2 separate regions of the Homo sapiens genome follow, and region 2 is linked to region 1. Evidence: promoter capture Hi-C in human tissues and cell types (Jung and others, 2019). All regions are on one chromosome and are shown on one strand. Each heading gives the region's core, a stretch centred on a gene start or on the middle of the fragment in contact. The rest is flanking DNA. Distances are from core to core; before and after follow the strand shown. Region 1 holds the start of MRPL47 (mitochondrial ribosomal protein L47). Region 2 has its middle 14 kb from the start of KCNMB3.

Region 1 (6,983 bases), core at 2,303-4,802:
ACAAAAAAAAAACTCTCTTCCTCCCCAGTTCATCTGCATCTCATTATTGGATGGCAAGAAATAGCAGCCTGACCTTCAGTTTGATATGAGAACACGGGAAGCCAGGGGTTGCAGTGAGTCAAGATGGTGCCACTGCACTCTAGCCTGGAAGACAGAGCAAGACTCTGTCTCAAAAACAAAACAAACAAACAAACAAACAAAACCTAGATGCAACCCAATTGACAGATGATGGATAAGCAAAATGGGGTAAATACATACAATGGACAACGGACAATTCAGCTTTAAAAAGGAAGGAAATTCTGACATATGCTACGACATAAATATGCCTTGGGGATATTATGCTAAGTGACAGACAAATATTATATGATTCTACTTACATGAGAAATAGAGTAGTCAAAATCATAAAGACAGCAGAATGGTGGTTACCAGGGGCTACGTGGAAGGGGAATGGAGAGTTATTGTTTAACGGATACAGAGTTTTAGTTTTACCATATGAAAAAAGTTCTGGAGTTGGATGATGGTGATGGTTGCATAGCATTAGGAATGTATTTAATACCACTGAACGGTGCACTTAAAAATGGTTAAAATAGTAAATGTTATGTGTACTTTACCACAATTTTTTTAAAGGCTACTGCTGCCAGGCACTGTTGATTTTTTCCACTCACTCTTCACAACTACCTTTTGAGGCAGGTTAAAATTCTCATCTTTTTTAAAGAGGAGGAAATGCAGGTTATGAGCAATTAGGTGTCTTCCACTTTAGCTTCCAAGATGTGATGATCACAGACATGGCTTCTGAATTCTAGAGCCAGAATTTGAAGATAGGCAGTCTATCTCCAGAAAAAACAAAACAAGACAGGCTCTCTACTACATTAGAGCTTACATTCTTGTAGGGACAGATATAAACAACCATGTAAGAGATTAAAAGCTTTCATATCACAGTGACAGATGCAAAATACCTTTGAAAGCAGGTACACAGCTGAAAACACAGTAACCTTTAGTAAACATAGCTATTAGAACCTTCCCTGCTCTGATTGGAAAGGGCGCAGAACACGGTAATGATCCTTTGAGAACCCCAAGAAAGGGCAATAATGTGGAAAGAGAAACTGGGGGTGAAATTTTGCTGCAGTTTATCTCCAGCTGGATTTGATTGAATACTACCAGAGCGAGTATTTGAAGGATTTGTATTTGGCTATATGAGAATATCTGTAATCAGAAATGGCTTATAAAGGGATTTTCATCAAGGAATGTAGTTTTGTAACAAGTTCAAATTCCTGCTGGAAATTTGTTAAATACCACTGGTTCTTTGCATCATGTTTCCAGCAAATCCCTATGTATATTGCCTCATCCTGTGGAGTGGCATAATTCAAATTAAACTGGGAGAATAGGGGTAAAAAGAGAACAAGATATTTTGAGGCTGGAGACAACTTTCTGACTTTAAGTGTTTCACTTCCTCTTTACCTGCTTCTATTGCACAGGGCAAATAGCTTACAGTATATATCTAATGAAGAGGATTAAATAAATTAATACTTTAAACCCTTAAAATGATGCTTGAGGTCAGGTGGGGTGGCTCACGCCTGTGATCTCAGCACTCTGGGAGGCCAAGGCAGGTGGATCACGAGGTCAGGAGTTCGAGACCAGCCTAGCCAACATGATGAAACCCCATCTCTACTAAAAACACATAAAATTAGCCGGGCATGGAGGCGTGCAACTGTAATCCCAGCTACTCAAGAGGCTGAGGCAGGAGAATCGCCTGAACGCAGGAGGCAGAGGTTGCAGTGACCCAAGATCACGCCATTGCACTCCAGCCTGGGCAACAGAGCAAGACTCCGTCTTGAAAAAAATAAAAATAAAAAAGGATGCTTGACACGTAACAGGTGCTCAGTAAATGTTGGCTATTATTTAGTGACACATTATTTAATAATTGAGTCAGTTTCCTCATCTGTAAAATGAAAATAACATTGTAATTTCTTTGCAGAGTCTCTGAGATAATAAAGTACACTGAATATCAAGCATTTGATCTTTGCTATGATTATTCACACCGCCATGATGCAACTCACTGTCTCCAAGGAGGTCCAAATAGCCCTATTAAGACTGTATTGGTCAGGTGCAGTGGCTTACGCCTATAATCCCAGCACTTTGGGAGGCTGAGGTGGGCGGATCATTTGAGGTGAGGAGTTCGAGACCAGCCTGGCCAACATGGTGAAACCCCATCTCTACTAAATATACAAAAATTAGCCAGGCGTGGTGGTGTGCACCTGTAGCCTCAGCTACTGGGGAGGCTGAGGCGGGAGAATCGCTTGAACCCGGGGGGTGGAGATTGCAGTGAGCCAAGATGGTGCCACTGCACTCCAGCCTGGGTGACAGAGTGAGACTGTCTCAAAAGAAAAAAAAAAAAAGACTGTATTATGACTTTCCTGAGACCTAGGCACTTTTGCCTTCAAGGGCCCCTTCGTCTAAGTTATTAAAAATAATATTTTATGACTGCATTGGTATAAAACGAACATAATACAGGCTGGATTCGTTATCATATTCATAAACATTATGGTTTTTTTAAAAAAGAAATTTAAATTAAAAGACTTTCGTAGACCCCTAAAACTATCATGGGTTCAGGCAGGAGAATCGCTTGAACCCAGGAGGCGGAGGTTGCAGTGAGCCAAGATCGCGCCACTGCACTCCAGCCTGGGCAACAGAGTGAGACTCTGTCTCAAAAAACAAACAAACAAAACAAAACAAAACAAAAACCTCTCTTCCTCCCCAGTTCATCTGCATCTCATTATTGGGCGGCACGGTACTTACTGTGCCTAAAGAATAAGTTGGCCCTGAGCCTCTTTACCTGTCTACATATTACCTGTCTTCATATTCCTTAGCATAGGTGGGCTTCTCGGCAAGATGACTTTGCATCTGTGGGACTAGAACCTAGCCTTTGGGCAGGTGGAACGCAACAATAAGCTTGTGCCCTAGAGATACAGATCTCAGCTCTATACCTTTCTAGACTCAGCTTCATCCGCAAATTAGCATTAATTGGGATGGTGAATAACAACGTTTTAGAAATGCTAATAATGTAAACACGATCTATCTGGCTACTTCAGGAAAACCCCTCATATAGCTCGTGCTCCGTCTCTCCTGTCAAGCCCCAAGCCCACAACTTGTCCCGGCTCCCTCCGGATCCCACCAAGGTCACCCTGGAAGCGTCCTCCCTTTTCTCGCCCCGCACCCGCTTCACGCCCGTTCTCCCTAGGCCAGCACCCACCAGCAGCCTTCGGAAAGCCACGAGTGAGGAAGCCCCCAAATCCGAGGCGAGTGCCAAGGGGCCGGCCAGACAGAGCTGCCACCGCAGTAACCGAAACCCGCCGCAACAAACTCATGGCCGCCATGGCTACTACGGGCAGGAGGAAGAAGGGAGGCGGGTCACGGAAGCTGAGAGAGCCAATTTACCAATGAGGACAAAGGCAGGATGTGGCCATCTTAAGTGAGGGCAAGTTTTCTATTCTCCTCACCGCCGGCTTGAGACGCCGGAAGTGACGCTATCGTTGGCGGAAACGCGTTTTGCCAGTTATGCGAAAACATGGCTGCGGCCGGTTTGGCCCTTCTTTGTAGGAGAGTTTCATCCGCCCTGAAATCTTCCCGATCGTTAATAACTCCTCAGGTCCCTGCCTGCACAGGGTAAGTGATGTATAAAGTAGGTTTGCCCACCTCTCCAACTTTGGATCTTGTTTGGTTGCCGAGATGCCGAGATGCCGAGAACAACTCAAGAATGGAACGGCCGCCTGGATGGCAGAGCCGGAGCCCACTTTGGTGAGGAGTGAGTGACCTTGGAGAAGTCGCTCACCTCCGACATTTCTATTCCTTCCTCATTTTGTTGCTGCCTGCTGTGGACAAGACAGTATATGGGGTTTGTAGATGTCCAGCATTTGTTGAAGTAAATACATCTATAAGTACAGAAGCATCCTCTTGGGCTGGGTGAGGTGCGAAAAACTTTACCGAAGATGTTTTTGTTGTGATACTCAAGTCTGTGTCAAGTTTGGATGGATTAAAAAAGAAGAGATATTTGTATTTACAGGATGTGTTACAATGAAAGTAACTGGTAACTTAGTAACTTCTTTTATTTATTTATTTTTCTTGGTCCTGGATCCAGTGAAGTATCCATTTATTACATTGGTTGCCATGACTCTTTAGTCTCTATCCGGAACAATTTCTTTTTTTTTTTTTTCTTAATGTTGTTGACATTTTGATGAGATTAGCTTTTTAAGAATCTTATTCATTTGGATTTGTCTGATTGTTTCCTCATTATAAGATTTAGGCTAAATATTTTTGGTAGGGATACAACACTTGTGATAAACTTCATTATTTAGTTTCAAATCATCTCAGGTCGTTAACTATTTTTTAAAAACAGGATTTTTGAATTACTGCATAATAATTTATCATCCAGATGCACAGTAATTTTTAAACCATTCTTAGCTGCGTATTTACATAATTAAAAACTTGACATCCTATATAGTGCTTTAATAAACATCTTAATTTATAAATTCCCATCTATAATAATTTTTTCAGTTGAAACTTCTAGATGCAGAATTACTGAATTAAAGGAGGAAGTATTTGAGGCTCCTGATACATGTTGCAAAATTGTGAGGTTTTTTTGTTTTTGTTTTTTGAGACAGGGACTGACTCTGTCGCCCAGGCTGGAGTGCAATGGTGTGATCTCAGCTCACTGAAACCTCTGCCTCCCAGGCTCAAAGCGTCCTCCCACCTCAGCCTCCCGAGTAGTTGGGACTATAAGGCACGTGCTACTATGCCTGGCTAATTTTTGTATTTTTGTTAAAGATGAGGTTTTGCCATCTTGCCCAGGCTGGTCTTGAGCTCCTGGGCTCAAAGTGATCCTCCCACCTCGGCCTTCCAAATTTCTGGGATAACAGGTGTGAGCCACCGTGCCCAGCCCACATGTTGCAAAATTGACTGCTCTTTTTACCTGCGCTTGCACCCATTAGCAATGTAAGAAGGACCCAAAAATGTTACCTTAAAATATAATTGTGTAACTATGTTACCTCTGAAATTATAAGGTAGCAGCTTCTATAATGCAGTATTAACAATACTTTCTAAAGCATTTTCAAAATTTATTGTGGCCAAGCATGGTGGCTCATCCCTGTAATTCCAGCACTTTGGGAGGCCAAGGTGGGAGGATCACTTGAGCCCAGGAGTTCGAGACCAGCCTGGACAACATAGTGAGACCCAGTCTCTAAATAAGAAAAAAAAATTAATTCTTGTGCAGAAACCCTGAGTAGCTTTTTAAAATGTTATCGATGACAAAATGATTATGTTTATTATGATAATGTTTATTGCTTATAAAATCCAGATATTATAAAACTTTTACTTGTTTATGTGTGTTCAATTGCAGGTTTTTTCTTAGTTTGTTGCCTAAGAGTACACCAAATGTGACATCCTTTCACCAATATAGATTACTTCATACCACATTGTCAAGGAAAGGACTAGAAGAATTTTTTGATGACCCAAAAAACTGGGGGCAAGAAAAAGTAAAATCTGGTGAGATACTTGGATTTGTCAACATTAGATATATTTATGGAACCCCCCCCCCCGCCCCGCCCAACCATCGTTCTAGGATTATATATCCAGTTTAGGAATTATTTAGATGTTTCCTTTTTCAGTTTTCTTTGAGACTGTCTACTAGAGAAAATTAAAGGGACAATATAATAGTAGAGTTAATTGTTCCTTGGCAGATTGGCAAGATGGTTAGATAAGGAATAGGCTGAAATTATTAACTAAAGTAAGGTTTAGGGCTTATTTTAGATTTTATTTTTTAATGATAATTTAAAGTTTGTTTATTTATTTAGAGATGGAGTTTTGCTCTTGTTGCCCAGACTGGGGTGCAGTGGCACAATCTCAGCTCACCGCAGCCTCTGCCTCTCGGATTCCAGTGATTCTCCTGCCTCAGCCTCCTGAGTAGCTGGGATTACAGGCACGTGCCACCACGCCCGGCTAATTTTGTATTTTAAGTAGAGACAGGATTTCGCCATCTTGGTTAGGCTGGTCTTGAACTCCCAAACTCAGGTGATGCCCGCCGTCTTGGCCTCCCAAAGCGTTGGGAATACAGGTGTGAACCACCGCCCCAGTTAATTTATAATGACAAAGTATTTTGTCATTAGGGTGTGAAAATACGTTCTGTACTAATGCTAACATTTTTTGAATGCTATTGCCAGTCATGTTAATAGTATTTTCGTATGTTACCTAATTTATCTCTAATTACACATTGTTATATACTATAAAAAAGCTGTTATATATTTTACAGATAAAGAAACAGGTTTAGACAGGTTTAGAGAGCTTAAATAATTTGCCAAAGGGCACATGGCTAGAAATGTTATTTCATGTTATGTATTATTTTAATAGGAGCAGCATGGACCTGTCAGCAACTAAGGAACAAAAGTAATGAAGATTTACACAAACTTTGGTAAGTATACTAAGTACATTAACATCTAGACGTTTGAAGCCGTTATAGTGTAACAATGAGGTGAAAACAATCTATCTGATATAAGAAATTGAGTAAAGCGATTTCTTTTGTAGTACTATGGATGATAAATCTGATGTTTAAGATCATGAAAGATTTTATATGACAGAGGTTAGATTATGACAAATGTCACAATTCTCAAGTAGTTGGGAATTCAGAAATTTTACTGTAATTTACATTGGTCCTACTAACATGTTTATACTAGCAATTTCAGTTAATTAATAAAATGAAACAGAGAATAGTTGGTGGCTTTTGTTTTTTTCTTTGAGACAAGGTCTCGCTCTGTTGCCCAGGCTGGAGTGCAGTGGTACAGTAACGGCTTACTGCAGCCTTGACCTCCTGGGCTCAAGTGATCCCCCACCTCAGCCTCCTGAGTATCTGGGACCACAGGTATGCACCACCACACCCAGCTAATTTTTTTGCGTTTTATGGAGAGGGAGTCTCCCTATGTTACCCAGGCTGCTCT
Region 2 (6,983 bases), core at 4,484-6,983, 340 kb after region 1:
CACACTTCTTCGAAGAGAGTTACCAAGTTGCAGGGGAAATTTATTAGCACAAATAAGTCTGAAAAGGAAAAGCTATCCATATATACAAGGTTAAGTTGGAAGAAGGAGGCAGAAAGAAGAAATTCCAGTTGTTATCATTATTTTTTATTCCAAATTGCATCTGTTCACTAAAATACTTCGGACTGGGTGCAGTGGCTTACACCTATAATCCCAGCACTTTGGGAGACTAGGCGGGCAGATCACTTGAGGTCAGGCATTCGAGACCAGCCTGGTCAACATGATGAAACCCTGTCTTTACTAAAAATACAAAAATTAGCCAGTCGTGGTGGCACATGCCTGTAATCCCAGCTACTCGGGAGGCTGAGGCAGGAGAATCGCTTGAACCTGGGAGGTGGAGGTTGCAGTGAGCCAAGATTGAGCCAGTGCACTCCGGCCTGGGTGACAGAGGGAGACTCCATCTCAAAAAAACCCAAACAAATATTTTATAAAATAGAAATAGAAAAATAATACAAATGAAAAGTCTATTAAGTATATATTTTTATTAAGCAATATTAAAATGACTGCAAGTAAGAGTTTATATAGCTATATGTACATGGATATTTATAGATGAGATTACGCTTACATTCTTGCCCACACCATCTTGGAAAATGTTAAGATAATATCGCCTTGACTGAAAAACATACAGCAAACATGGTCTCTTTGGCATTCTGTCATCCACATCTACAGGTGCCTGTAGCAATGTGTGGTACTATAATATAATGGTAATTGATGTTCCTAATTTGGGAGTGTGGAAAGATCCCCAAATGTCTTTTAAGTCATCAGAGAAAGATAAAATAATATTTGATACAGCTTTTCTTAAAATTTGAGATAATTTTAATGGCGAGTTATTTTATGGCCCTTTGTATCTTGAAAAATTGGGAAATCACATATGGTTTAAAAGCGAATTATCTTAATTGGAACATGCCATTAACTAGAAAACCCATTATTTCAGCTTGCACTCTAACAGACAATACGTGGAAAAGGAAACGCGGCCAGGGCAAAACATTTCCTCTTCTTATAAACCTTGAACTGAGTACGTCCCTCACCAATTATAGAGGGTCCCCTTGGGCCTCAGAACTTTCCACAAGCGTTGAGGTCTCTATGGCGATGCTCCCGGCTGCCGAGGCGGAAACACAGGTGATGAGGTGGCGGCAAGCACAGTGCAAAGAGAGAGAAGCAGCTTCGGCTGCAGCAAACCACGCAGGTCCTTCTTGATCATCTAGAACTGACCGCTCCGCCTTGCCAGGAGTCTGCAGAACCACGTGGCTAGCCTGCCTGAAGTTCTCACCTCTCCAGGAAGGCGGGGGGCTTCTAATGGCTGCAGCTGCGCTGGGGGCTGGGGGCTCCCGCTGGGACTCCACTTCCGTGGATGTCTAAGCTTCACCTTTCTTGCGCCCGCAGGGGCATGACTCAGGTGAAAGGGAGCCATTTTCTCAGACCCCTGGCCTCATGCAGCCCTTCAGCATCCCCGTGCAAATCACACTTCAGGGCAGCCGGAGGCGCCAGGGGAGGTAAGTCACTTCCGGAAGCTCTGCCGGTAGTGGGAATCTGGCTGAACAAGCAGTTGCAAGAAGAGGGGACATCTCGAGCTTGGGGAGTGAGTGTTTCCTTTTTCTCTGAGGATGCCCACTTGCCATGCCTCCCAGGGTACCCAGCAGGCTTCCCCAGTAGCACTCACATCACGGGGCTGCAGCCTTTCCTGTTGGCTCTATCCTCTAGGTTGCCAGTTCTTGGAGACTGGAGACCTTTTAAACTCACCTGTAGCTCCCCAGCACTGATCATAGCCCAGCCCATAGTTGGTGCTCAAGAATGATCTGTTGGTTGAATGAGGAATGAAGAAATTAGACCAGCATTTGGTCCCATTGGTGAAGCCCTGGAGTCACAGCCCTTGGATTCAAACCCAGCTCACCACTTAATCAGCCATATGACTGGGCAGGTCCCATTGGTGAAGCCCTGGAGTCACAGCCCTTGGATTCAAACCCAGCTCACCACTTAATCAGCCATATGACTGGGCAAGTCACTTAACTTCTCTGTTTGCCTCATCTCCTTATCTGTGAAATGCAGATAGTAAGAGCCCCTGCGTGTCTCAGCACAGTATACCACATCCTCTCTAAACTATACTGTTATACCGGGTATACGCTCTACACCTCCCTAAACTCTAGCCTTTTAGCTATTGTTATTACCCACCCTACTCTTCTCCTTAAAGGGGGAAGTGAGAGATTATTTTCAGGACCCGTTTTCTCCCCAGGGAAATGAAAAGCAAAGAAGCTGAAAGCCTCTAGTGACCTGCACCCCTTTTGCCTGCCCTAGGGTTGGGGCATGGGGCAGTCAATGTGGGAACCAAAATGGAGAGAAGAGTGATGCCTGAGGGTGTTGGACAAATGGGATACTAAAACCTTTTGTGCCAGGCGCGGTGGCTCACACCTGTAATCCCAGCACTTTGGGAGGCCGAGGTGAGTGGATCACCTGAGGTCAGGAGTTCGAGAGCAGCCTGGCCAACATGGTGAAACCCCGTCTCTACTAAAAATACAAAAATTAGCTGGGCATGGTGGTGGCGCGCCTGTAATCCCAGCTACTCAGGAGGCTGAGGCTGGAGAATTGCTTGAACCTGGGAGGAGGAGGTTGCAGTGAGCAGAGATTGTGCCATTGCACTCCAGCCTGGGCGACAAGAGCCAAACTCTGTCTCAAACAAAGAAAAACCTGTTGGGAGGGGTACATTTCAGAACCAGGTTCACTCACTATCTGGAAATATGCATGATTTATTATTGGCTCTAGTGGAGTTGGGAGCTGAGAATTGGAAAACATTAAAGATGGTAATGGTCATCATGTTACTCACTTCCATTATCACTTAACTGCACTCAGGGGTATTTGAGAGGGAGCATGAGGAGAGTGAGATACAGGAGTTTGGATAAGATGGGGGTTCAGGGAAGAAGGACCAGACAGACTACAGAGGAAAGAAAGGTGTTCTTCTCGCTAGACATGAACCAATTTTTTTGTGAACAGACAATTAAAATGAATTACTTTATGGCAAAAGATCAAATGACAAACATGCAAGCAAACAAGTTTTAGTGTCCCATACGTCACACAATTAACTAGATATAAAGGCAGTTGTGTTGTCATCAAAGCAAACTACTGTATCCCATTTTCATTTCTGAAATGCACAACTGAATTATTGCTATTTCCTCTTGCTGAACTTGATGAACTATGTTGACTTAACCTTATTTGCTGTTTCAAAATAAGTTGTTAAATAATGTTGTAATTAAAAAATAGAAGAGTAAAAATAATTACCAAGGGTCTCCTCTGTAACCAAAACGAATTACAGGGAAATATTAATATAGTGTACTTCATGTTTAGACATTCATTTCACATACACCCGTGAAATGAATGTCAGATGAATTATGAAGTTTTGATGAGCCACAGCATGTTTCTAAGGAATACTTCTTGCAAAAGTTTCAGTGCTGGAGGGAGAGGCTGCTGGCTTCTGTGGGGATCACACCCAGGTGAGTGTGTTCAGGCTGTTTGTAATTGAGTTTGCCTCAGGCTAAGCCAGAAGCTGCCTGTAGCCATGTGTCGTACTTGGGCTGGGTGGGAAAGTCAGTCCTATCTGCAGTGAAGAGAATAGAAGGTGGTGGATATTGCCTTGATTATGAATAAAACAGCTCAAGGTAATACACTGGTTAGAAGCGGACATGTATTACTGGCAGAAAAAGGAATCAATATGCTTTTTATCCATCTTCCTGACTAGAAAGCAAACTAGATCATACTTAAGTGCTTTGAGGTCCTTGGATGAAAGATGCTTGTAAATACAACAAAGTTAATTACAAGGCTGTTTATGGTCTGAGAAAACTGGAAACAACCTAATAATATTCAATAATAAGGAAATGGTTAAGGAAATATGGCATATCTAATTGATGGAACATTATGTAGCCAATAGGATTACAAAGAATTGTTAATGACATGGGAAAGTGCTTATTATGTTAAGTGAAAAAGATAAGATTAACAAAAAAATCTCAAATCATATCTAATGTGATCTCATTCTGTTTAAAACAATATAGGCCAGGTGCGGTGGATTATGCCTATAATCTCAGCACTTTGGGAGGCCGAGGCAGGTGGATCACCTGAGGTCAAGATTTCGAGACTAGCCTGGCCAACATGGTGAAAACCCGTTTCTACTAAAAACAAAAAAATTAGCTGGGCGTGGTAGCCGGCGCCTATAATCCCAGCTACTTGGGAGGCTGAGGCAGGAGAATTGCTTGAACCCGGGAAGCAGAGGTTGTAGTGAGCTGAGATCATGCCACTGCACTGCAGCCTGGATGACAGAGTGAGACTCCATCTCAAAAAAAAAAAAAAAAAAAAAAAGAAAAGAAAAAGAAAAACAAAACAGAAACAAAAAACAAAAAACAAAAAACCTAATATAGAGCAGGAGGGGATTAACCCAGCAAACCAAGTGCACAATCATTACCTTTAAGTGTTGTGGGTGAGTTTTTGTTCTCTTCTGTACATTTTTTTTTGTATTTTTCAAGTTTCATACAATGAGCATATAAAAATATATTACTTTCATGAATCATTTGACATTTGTTGAGGAATTCTTTGTGGCTAAGTTTGTAGTCAGGTCTTGAGAGGTGACAACGTGCTGGCAGCCCTTGCAGCCCTCGCTCGCTCTCCGCGCCTCCTCGGCCTTGGCGCCCACTCTGGCCGCGCCTGAGGAGCCCCTTTCTGGGCTGGCCAAGGCTAGAGCCGGCTCCCTCAGCTTGCAGGGAGGTGGGGAGGGAGAGGCGCGGGCGGGAACCCGGGCTGTGCGCGGAGCTTGCGGGCCAGTCCGAGTTCCAGGTGGGCGTGGACTCAGCGGGCCAGCACTCCGAGTGGCCGACCGGCCTACAAGCCACGGACAGTGAGGGGCTTAGCACCTGGGCCAGCAGCTGCTGTGCTCAATTTCTCACAGGGCCTTAGGTGCCTCCCCGCGGGGCAGGGCTTGGGACCTGCAGCCCGCCATACCTGAGCCTCCCCCCGCCTCCGTGGGCTCCTGTGCCGCCCGAGCCTCCCTGATGAGCGCTGCCCCCTGCTCCACGGCACCCAGTCCCATCCACCACTCAAGGTCTGAGGAGTGCGGGCACACGCACAGGACTGGCAGGCAGCTCCACCTGTGGCCCCGGTGCGGGATCCACTGGGTGAAGCCAGCTGGGCTCCTGAGTCTGGTGGGGACTTGGAGAACGTTTATGTTTAGCTAAGAGATTGTAAATACACCAATTGGTACTGTGTATCTAGCTCAAGGTTTATAAACACACCAATCAGCACCCTGTATCTAGCTCAGGGTTTGTGAATGCACCAATCGACACTGTATCTAGCTACTCTGGTGGGGACTTGGAAAACGTTTGTGTCCACACTCTGTATCTAGCTAATCTAGTGGGGATGTGGAGAACCTTTGTGTCTAGCTCAGGGATTGTAAACGCACCAATCAGCACCCTGTCAAAATGGGCCAATTAGCTCTCTGTAAAATGGACCAATCGGCTCTCTGTAAAATGGACCAATCAGCAGGATGTGGGTGGGGCCAGATAAGAGAATAAAAGTAGGCTGCCCCAGCCAGCAGTGGCAACCTGCTCAGGTCCCTTTCCACGCTGTGGAGGATTTGTTCCTTTGCTCTTTGCAATAAATCTTGGTACTGCTCGTTCTTTGGGTCCACGCTGCCTTTATGAGCTGTAACACTCACTGCGAAGGTCTGCAGCTTCACTCCTGAAGCCAGGGAGACCACGAACCCATCGGGAGGAATGAACAACTCCAGAGGCGCCGCCTTAAGAGCTATAACACTCACTGCGAAGGTCCGCGGCTTCATTCTTGAAGTCGGTGAGACCAAGAACCCACCAATTCCGGACACAGTTTCATAAATGTTCCATACATGCTTGAGAATAATATATATTCTGTAGAAGTGAGTATTCTATATTTATCATTTAGATAAAACTTGTTAATTGCTTTACTTAAATCTATTACCCTACTGGTTTGTTCAGGTCAAGCTATCTAAATTACTGGGGGAGTGTATAAAAATACATCATAATCTGATAGTGGATTTTGTCTATTTCTTCTTGTAGTTTAATCAGTGAAACAATGCTATCAGGTACCTACAAATTAGCATTGTTACATTTTCCGTGTGAATTGAGCCTTTAATCAGTGTTAAAACACTTATTTTTAAATTTCTAATAAAGCTTTTTAATTTTTAACATTCATGTTTGCTTTTTGTTACATTTTGCCTATAAATTTCACCCTTTTTGTATCTGTGTTTTAGATGTATCTTTTGTAAAAACATGCATATAGATAGTTCTCCATTTACAGTGGGATTACATCCTGACAAATCCATCATAAGTGGAAAATACTGTAAGTTGAAAACTTCAGAGTATTAGCTATTTACCCTCATGATTGTGTGGCAGACTGGGAACTATGGCTGGCTGCCACTGCCCAGCATCTCAAGAGAGTAGGGTACTGCATATCGCTAGCCCAGGAAATAATGCAAATTCAAAATTTGAGGTACAGTTTCTACTGAATTCATATTGCTTTCACACCATAGTAATGTAAAAAAATTGCAAGTGTGGGGCGGGGCGGGCCATGGGGCGGGCGGAGGCGCCCGAGCCCCGCTTCCCCCGCGCCATTCCACCCCCGGCCAGGCTCAGCCCGCGGCCACCTACGCCCCGCCCCTGCCGGCTGCGCCCGAGCCCAGTCCCGCGAGCCGCTCCCCGGCGGGCTGGCTCTTGGCCCCGGAAGCGCGAGCGTTCACTTCGCGGCGAGTGGCTCCGTCTCCGCGGACAGAGCGCGCGCCCCCTGGCCCGGCCCGCGGGGGGGGGCTCCGGCACGGTCCCCGAGCGTTTCCCGCCGGGTGGAGCGGGCCGAGCCCAGCAGGTTGACCAGCCCCGCGGCCACGCAGAGCCGGGAGATCTACTGTTTGAGCGCGGAAGCGC

What was found. Contacts are between HindIII fragments. The study calls those that stand out against the background at their distance.
Region 2: a contact is called between a fragment that was not itself captured here and the fragment with the promoter of MRPL47 in region 1, in 1 of the 25 tissues and cell types used here (hippocampus).

Annotation. Positions count from the first base shown.
Region 1 is chr3:179,601,207-179,608,189 of GRCh38, reverse strand. MRPL47 (mitochondrial ribosomal protein L47) reads left to right here and starts at 3,552. Exons shown (of 7, transcript NM_020409.3): 1 at 3,552-3,663; 2 at 5,393-5,538; 3 at 6,400-6,460. The coding sequence starts at 3,566. NDUFB5 (NADH:ubiquinone oxidoreductase subunit B5) reads right to left here and starts at 3,396. Exons shown (of 6, transcript NM_002492.4): 1 at 3,251-3,396. The coding sequence starts at 3,374. RefSeq lists enhancers at 2,811-2,900, 2,931-3,090, 2,529-3,395, 3,271-3,470, 3,396-4,262. The HindIII fragment of the contact is 10,904 bases long and covers 1,938-6,983 here.
Region 2 is chr3:179,261,216-179,268,198 of GRCh38, reverse strand. It overlaps a transcript of KCNMB3 not described here and the pseudogene LRRFIP1P1. Among named protein-coding and RNA genes, the nearest start is that of KCNMB3, 14 kb to the right of the region's middle. RefSeq lists an enhancer at 4,893-5,394 and a silencer at 6,585-6,983. The HindIII fragment of the contact is 3,811 bases long and covers 3,828-6,983 here.